Regions from separate parts of the Homo sapiens genome. Here region 1 is linked to region 2. The links are contacts of gene promoters, found by promoter capture Hi-C in blood cells and fetal thymus (Javierre and others, 2016). All regions are on one chromosome and are shown on one strand. Each heading gives the region's core, a stretch centred on a gene start or on the middle of the fragment in contact. The rest is flanking DNA. Distances are from core to core; before and after follow the strand shown. Region 1 overlaps VCF1 (VCP nuclear cofactor family member 1). Region 2 holds the start of SLC39A11 (solute carrier family 39 member 11).

The links. Contacts are between HindIII fragments. The CHiCAGO score rates a contact against its expected background, and 5 or more counts as called.
Region 1: a contact is called between a fragment that was not itself captured here and the fragment with the promoter of SLC39A11 in region 2, in 1 of 17 cell types (neutrophils). The highest score is 5.2, in neutrophils.

What each region holds. Positions count from the first base shown.
Region 1 is chr17:73,223,794-73,227,306 of GRCh38, forward strand. VCF1 (VCP nuclear cofactor family member 1) reads right to left here. Exons shown (of 4, transcript NM_001098832.2): 2 at 3,372-3,471. Among named protein-coding and RNA genes, the nearest start is that of VCF1, 6.8 kb to the right of the region's middle. The HindIII fragment of the contact is 3,043 bases long and covers 636-3,513 here.
Region 2 is chr17:73,091,085-73,094,674 of GRCh38, forward strand. It overlaps SLC39A11 (solute carrier family 39 member 11), which reads right to left and starts at 1,604. Exons shown (of 10, transcript NM_139177.4): 1 at 1,527-1,604. RefSeq lists a silencer at 533-764. The HindIII fragment of the contact is 20,423 bases long and covers 1-3,590 here.

The DNA.
Region 1 (3,513 bases), core at 907-3,406, 130 kb after region 2:
ACACAGCAAGACCCTGTCTCTACAAAAAATTAAAAAAATTAGCCAGGTTTGGTGGCACATCCCTGTAGTCCCAGCACCTCAGGAGGCTGAAGAGGAAGGATCATTTGAGCCCAGGAGGTTGAGGCTACAGTGAACCATGATCATTCCACTGCACTCAGCTTGGGCAACAGAGGGAGCCCCTGCCAGAAAGAAAAGAAAGAAAGGGAGGAAGGAAAGGAGGGAGGGAAGAAGGGAGGGAGGGAGAAAGGAAGAGAGGAAGGAGGGGAAGAGAAGAAAGTGGAGGGGAGGGGATGAGAAGGTAGGGGAGAGAAGGGGAGGGGAGAACAGAGGGAAGGAAGGAAGGGAATTCTAGCCAGGCATGGTGGCTCAAGTCTGTAATCCCAGCATTTTGGGGAGGCTGAGGTGGGAGGATCGCTTGAGCCCAAGAGTTCACGACCAGCCTGGGCCATATAGTGAGACGTCGTCTCTCCAAAAAAAAAAAAAAAAAAAAAACCTTAAAAAATTAACCCAGCATGGTAGCATGTGCCTGTAGTTCCAGCTACTTGGGAGGCTGATGTAGGAGTATTGCTTGAGCCTGGGAGGTAGAGGTTGCAGTGAGCTGAGATCACACCACTGCACTCCAGTCTGGGTGACAAAGCTTATTCATTCAGGGAAAACATAGGAAATGGTTTCTCTTACATAACTTAAGTTTCAAGGAAACTGACCTCATGGCCCTACCTCAGAATTAAAAGAAAACATTTTCATTAGTAATGTTATTAATAAAATATTTTGTCTAAATTGTTAATATAATTAAAAATGAATTGTTTTATTTTCCCTTTTATACACAATCATCAAAAACCAGCCAAATGTCCCTAAACTTGATTTTTTGCTGCTACAAACATAATCATTTATTCCAGTAGTGAAAACTTCATTATTTGGGGCTTAACTTTCCATTTTAAAAGATATTCCCTCTGCCTTTTGCTTCTCTGGCTCTCTCATCATTCACTTGTCCTTGTTACTTGTTAATACCACTGCCAGGAAGCACAGCGCAGCACAGCACAGCACAGCACAGGACAGGACAGGACAGGACAGCACAGGACAGGACAGCACAGCACAGGACAGGACAGGACAGGACAGGACAGGACAGGACAGGACAGGACAGCACAGCACAGCACAGCACAGGACAGGACAGCACAGCACAGCACAGCACAGCACAGCACAGGACAGGACAGGACAGCATAGGATAGGACAGGACAGGACAGCACAGGACGGCACAGCAGGCTATTCTGGTCAATGTTCAGTAAGCAAGGCTGAAACTAATGGTTGTAACACCCCATTAGGTGATCTACCAGTGAGTTCAGACAGAAACTACCAGTAATGACCTTAAACGATAAGGAAGACAATCTAGTCCTTCCTTCAGATAATGATTACGGAGTGGCTCAACAACTGAATTTCTTTGGACAAGTAAGGACAAGCTCAGCTAGAGAACCCAGGAGGTTGAGTAACAAGACGTTGTTTTCTTCTGTGAGACCAATGCACGGATTTTAGAAAGAGAGTAAAGGTCATTTTGTACCAAAAACTAAATAAATAAATAAATAAAATTTAAAAATCTACAATATCTGCCTTACTTAAGAGATCAGAAATGTTAATTTTTTTAAAAAAGGATGACAATTTCTTTCTTTTTTTTTAACCAAGAGACAAAAGCAAGAAAAAGATGGCAATTTCTATTGCTGTTCTCAGGCTTCAAAACTGGCAGATACGGGAAAAAAACGTTAATACAGAGAGTTAGACCTACCATACCCTTGACTGAAATGAACATCATATAGCAGGACTTACATACAGACACAAGTAAGGAAATACTGATGGCCAACACCATAGAAGTAATCTTTGCATACTCTTTTAATGAATAGTCTTACAATTCAAAAGAATGGAAACTCAATTACTATTACAGGGTTTTATCATTAGATATTCATGGTAGCCTCTAATCTTGTTTTCTTTCATCCCTGAGATTCCCAACTATTACATTAAACAAAGCTCAATTACCTTTCTGATAATCATTTTTTAAAAAGAAAAGAAAAAAGCAAATAGGAAAAAAATATATATATATATAATATATATATATATATATTTTTTTTTTTTTTTTTTCTGAAACGGAGTCTTGCTCTGTTGCCCAGGCTGGAGTAAAACGGCACGATCTCAGCTCACTGCAACCTCTGCCTCCTGGGTTCAAGCCATTCTCCCACCTCAGCCTCCCAAGTAGCTGGGATTACAGGCGTGCACCACCACACCCAGCTAATTTTTTGTATTTTTAGTAGAGATGGGGTTTCACCATGTTGGCCAGGCTGGTCTCGAACTCCTGACCTCGTGATCTGCCCACCTTGGCCTACCAAAGGGCTGGGATTATAGGGATGAGCCACTGCGCTCGGCCAGGAAAATATTTGAAGAGGAAAAACAGCTATAGAAACTCAGGTCTCCACACAGAAGGATTCTACTCTGCACTTGTTCACTGTCTCTGAATGACTGTTACCTACATGAAAGTTCCTGATTTTTCCCCCTTGGGGGAGTTACTTTGAATTGCTGGCAAAGACAGACTGGATATAGGTCAAATCCTATTATCAGGAACTAATTAAAGTACAAATTATTTGGGTGTGGGAGAATTCTACTGTGAGTTATGAGGCTAGGGCTCTTTGTTGTTGAGGCTTTTCTCTTAGTGTGACAACTGTTAAGGGTCAAAATCTCTAGGTGCATAACTTAATAGCAGCATTACTTTATATTGGTTTCCTTTCCCCAGCACAGAGCAGCCTTCCAATTGCACAGAAAATGTATCCTCAGTCTGCGTACTGAAGCACTCTTTCATGAAATCAAAAATTGTAAAAAAGTTCCAGAACACCCAACTCCCCTTCCCTCTCACCACAGGAGCTCTTTTCACAACAAGATAATGAAAAGTAAAAACACTGAGAAATGGGATTCTGCATACACATACCTTACATATTTTACATGCTTAAAGTTTCTCTTAAAAGGCATTTGAATTGAAGCAACAAAATATGTTTATCTTAAGGACAATTCATGGTTTATAAACTACCAGAAAAGAAGTTCGCTGCTGAAATACAAAACAGTGAGTTCAAACATAGGCTTTCAAAAAGCCACGAAATTTCTAACAAATACAAATGAGTGTGTACATATATGACTATGTGCACATATGTACTGTTTTGCTGGGGACAGGGTACACAGCTTCCTCAAAGGGACCCTGATTTGGAAACAGAAAGGTTAAACCAGTATAATCAACTAAGGTCATTTTAAATTACTGTTTAAGTAAATTTAATTACACAGCAGATACTAGGTTATTTAACTCAAGCAGTGAAAACAACAGACTATGTGACCACACTTCCTACCTCTGTGTCCCAGGAATCCTGAAAGACAGGGTTTCTGCTACTTCTTTTGGTCTGGGGGGGAAGATGGTTGTCTTCTTCGTTGCCATTCCTTCTCCTTTTCCTGAAATTAAATCACAAGGAGAAAAAAAAAAAAACCCAAACA
Region 2 (3,590 bases), core at 354-2,853:
CATGGGGGATTCTTATGCACATTAAACTGTGGAAAGCAAAAGATTAAAACTGGTAAAACTTGGCCAGGCGCAGTGGCTCATGCCTGTAATCCCAGCACCTTGGGAGGCCAAGACGGGCAGATCACCTGAGGTCAGGAGTTCGAGACCAGCCTGGCCAACACGGTGAAACCCCATCTCTACTAAAAACACAAAAATTACTTGGGCGTCGTGGTGTGTGCCTGTAGTCCCAGTGCCTGTAGTCCCAGCTACTCGGGAGGCTGAGGCAGGAGTAATCGCTTGAACCCGGGAGGCGGAGGTTGCAGTGAGCCGAGATCGCGCCACTGCACTCCAGTCCGGGTGACAGAGCAAGGCTCTGTCTCAAAAAAAAATAAAAATAAATAAATAAATAAAACTGGTAAAACTTCTACAATACCAAGAGCTTAGAAAATGAGTTCTCCTGCCCCATGTGGGATTGGCAAGAGCAAAGAAGAGTCCCAAAAGAACAGAAAGTTTTCTGCAGAGTCTCAAGAGAAGAAAAAGTTTCTGGCAGAGTCCCAAGAGAACAAGAAGTTTTCTCTAACCGGCAGACCAGTAACAACTTTAGGACACAGCATCTCCATCACAGCTTACACAATGGGGCTCAGAATTCCTCACGATGGGGATATTAATTCCATCAACCCTGATTCGTTAGCAGCAGGGAGAATCATTCTCTGACCGTTCCAACTTTTAACATGCCAACAGCCTGTAGACTTGTACACACCTGCCACAGCAGCACATGGGCATTCCCGGCTGATTGATACAGGTTTGTTTTCTTTATTTCCTTTCTCCCCCTTTTAAACCTGTTGTTCCGCTTCCAAGAGTCAGTTCAAGAGGCTGGTGAAGTTGCAGAAGTGGAAACAGCACTAGGGCTGCTGGGCCTTAGTGGAGCTGCACACACATGCCCTAACTCCACGAGGGGGAATCCAGCAGAAGGATTCAGGTCTGGGCGGAGAGGACTGTGGAAAAGTTCTCTAATGCCTCGCTACTCAAAGCGTGGTCCGCGGACCACCCAACCTGGGAATTAGTTAGAAATGCACACTGTCACGCCCCACCCAGACCTGCTGCAAGTTAACCAGATTCCCAGTCAAGTTCCAGAGGTCCAGCTAACAGCCAGAGCAAGTGGGAGGGGCCTGGGAGCAGCTGGATTTGTAGCTGCCTCTGCTCCCAGGAATCCCGGGTACCCCCACACACCGCCTAGGAAGGGACGAACGAAGAGGATTTGGGTTAGGACTGTAAAAGGAAGGCATGTCATTGCCTTCCAGATCACCCTGGAGAGGGACATAGCCGGGGTCCGGGGACTTCCTTCCCACCGCCCCTCACCCTCCCACCCCGCCCCGACACCTGCCAAAGCCTCCAATTTCTCCTCCAAACCCCTCCTCTCTCCAGGCGTACCCCCTTCCAAGCTCCAGGTGGCTGCCCTTCCAAGTCCCACACTCTTGTCCTGATGGCCTCCGACCCCGGGCCTCGAGCCCAACCAAAGGCACCGAAGGAGAGAAAAGCCAACTCACTAGGGTGCCCTCTCCAGCCCCCACTGCACTTCCATCAGCCCCCGCTGCCACTCTCTCGCCGGCTCCACTCCCGCAGTCACTTCCTGCTTCCCTCCCGCACACGTGGCCCTCCCGCCTCCGGGCCCCGCCCCCTTGGCCGCAACTGGCAACTCCCGCCTGAAGAATAGATTCTCTGGTTCACAGCCGTCTGCAGGCTCAGGAACAGATCTGGGCGGGCAGAACAGAGCCCTGAGGCCAAGAGCCCAGCAGTCTGCGAGTGACTGCAGCCCTAAGGGAAGCTACAAACACCCAAGGAAAGAGCCCTTTGTAACACCCCTGATGTTACTTATGCTTCTACACCTTTGGCAGCCAGGTCCATGCCACTGGGTGCGCAGCAGAGCAGGATGTGCTGTGTGTGTGTTGCGGGAGAGGCTGGGGGCGGGTAATGTGATGGCATCGGCATCATTCTCCAGTCAATGACCCTCAAAAGAATCACTGGAGGGGGTCAAACACAAAATGCCAGCACCCCCAGAGGCTCTGGTTCCGTCATTCTGGGTGGGGCTGACATTTTGGGATTTTTTTGTTTTTGCTTTTGTTTTTTTGAGATGGAGTCTCGCTCTTTCGCCCAGGCTGGAGTGCCGTGGCCCAATCTCGGGTGATTGCAGCCTCTGCCTCCTATGTTCAAGCGATTCTCCTGCTTCAGCCTCCCGAGTAGCTGGGATCACAGGTGCATGCTGCCAAGCCCCGCTAATTTTTGTTTTTTTTTTTTTTTTTTTTTTTTTTTAGTAGGGACGGGGTTTCACCACGTTGCCCAGGCTGGCCTCGAACCCCTGACCTCAAATGATCCACTCGTGTGGGCCTCCCAAAGTGCTGGATTATAGGCATGAGCCACCGCGCCTGGCCTGAGATCTTGTTTTGAGCTAGGAGTTGCTGATGCTGCTGTCCTGGGACCACCCTTTGAAAAGCACTGCCCTAGGTCAAAGGCTTTGATCTGCAGGATTTCTGTGAAAAGACCAGAGGATAGGATTGACTAGATTTAGCCAAAAACAAAACAAAATAAATAAATAGATAGAAACAAGATGCCTGGGCTGGGCGCTGTGGCTCACGCCTATAATCCCAGCACTTTGGGAGGCCGAGGCGGGCAGATCACAACGTCTGGAGATCGAGACCATCCTGGCTAATACGGTGAAACCCCGTCTCTACTAAAAATACAAAAAATTAGCTGGGCGTGGTGGCAGGCGCCTGTAGTCCCAGCTACTCGGGAGTCTGAGGCAGGAGAATGGCGTGAACCCGAGAGGCCGAGCTTGCAGTGAGCCAAGATCACGCCACTGCACTCCAGCCTGGGCAACAGAGCAAAACTCCATCTCAAAAAAAAAAAAAAAAGCCTGATTAAATTTGAATTTCAGAAAAATAACGTCATTTATTACTATAAATATGCCCCGGGCAATGTGTGGGACATACTTATGTTACAGGCATATTTGTTGTTGATCTGAAACTGAAACCCAGCTGAGTGTCCTGTGTTTTATTTGACAACATATCAGAGCGTGACCTGAGCAGAAAAGCTACCCGTGGTCTCGATGGCCATAGCCCAAAGGGTCCAATAACAGGCCTCTTTCTTCCAGTGGAACTAGGTTGTTCACACTGACGGTCGCACCATATACCAAGCACTCCATGGGGAGGAGAAGACAGCCTGGCCACTGGAGGGTGGTCTTTGCCCTTAAAAGACCCCCAACTTGGAAGAGTCAAATCAGCCATTGCAATTCCACATAAGAGAGTATGTACAGGCACACAGAGACACAATACCCATGTGGCACGGCCCATCAACTCATCTTCCAAAATGTCATACCTCTTCCTGCACGCTGCAATAGCCATAAAATGACACAATATCTTAGACTCACTTCAAAATATGATGGAAGAGAAAAGTGGATGGAGTAGAGATTAAACAAAATTGGCCATGAATTAACCATTCTTAGGCTGGGCATGGTGGTTCACACCTGTAATCCCAGCACTTTGGGAGGACAAGGTGGGCAGATTGTTTGAGCCCAAGAGTTTGAGACCGGCCTGGGCAAAAAAGCAAGATCTCGT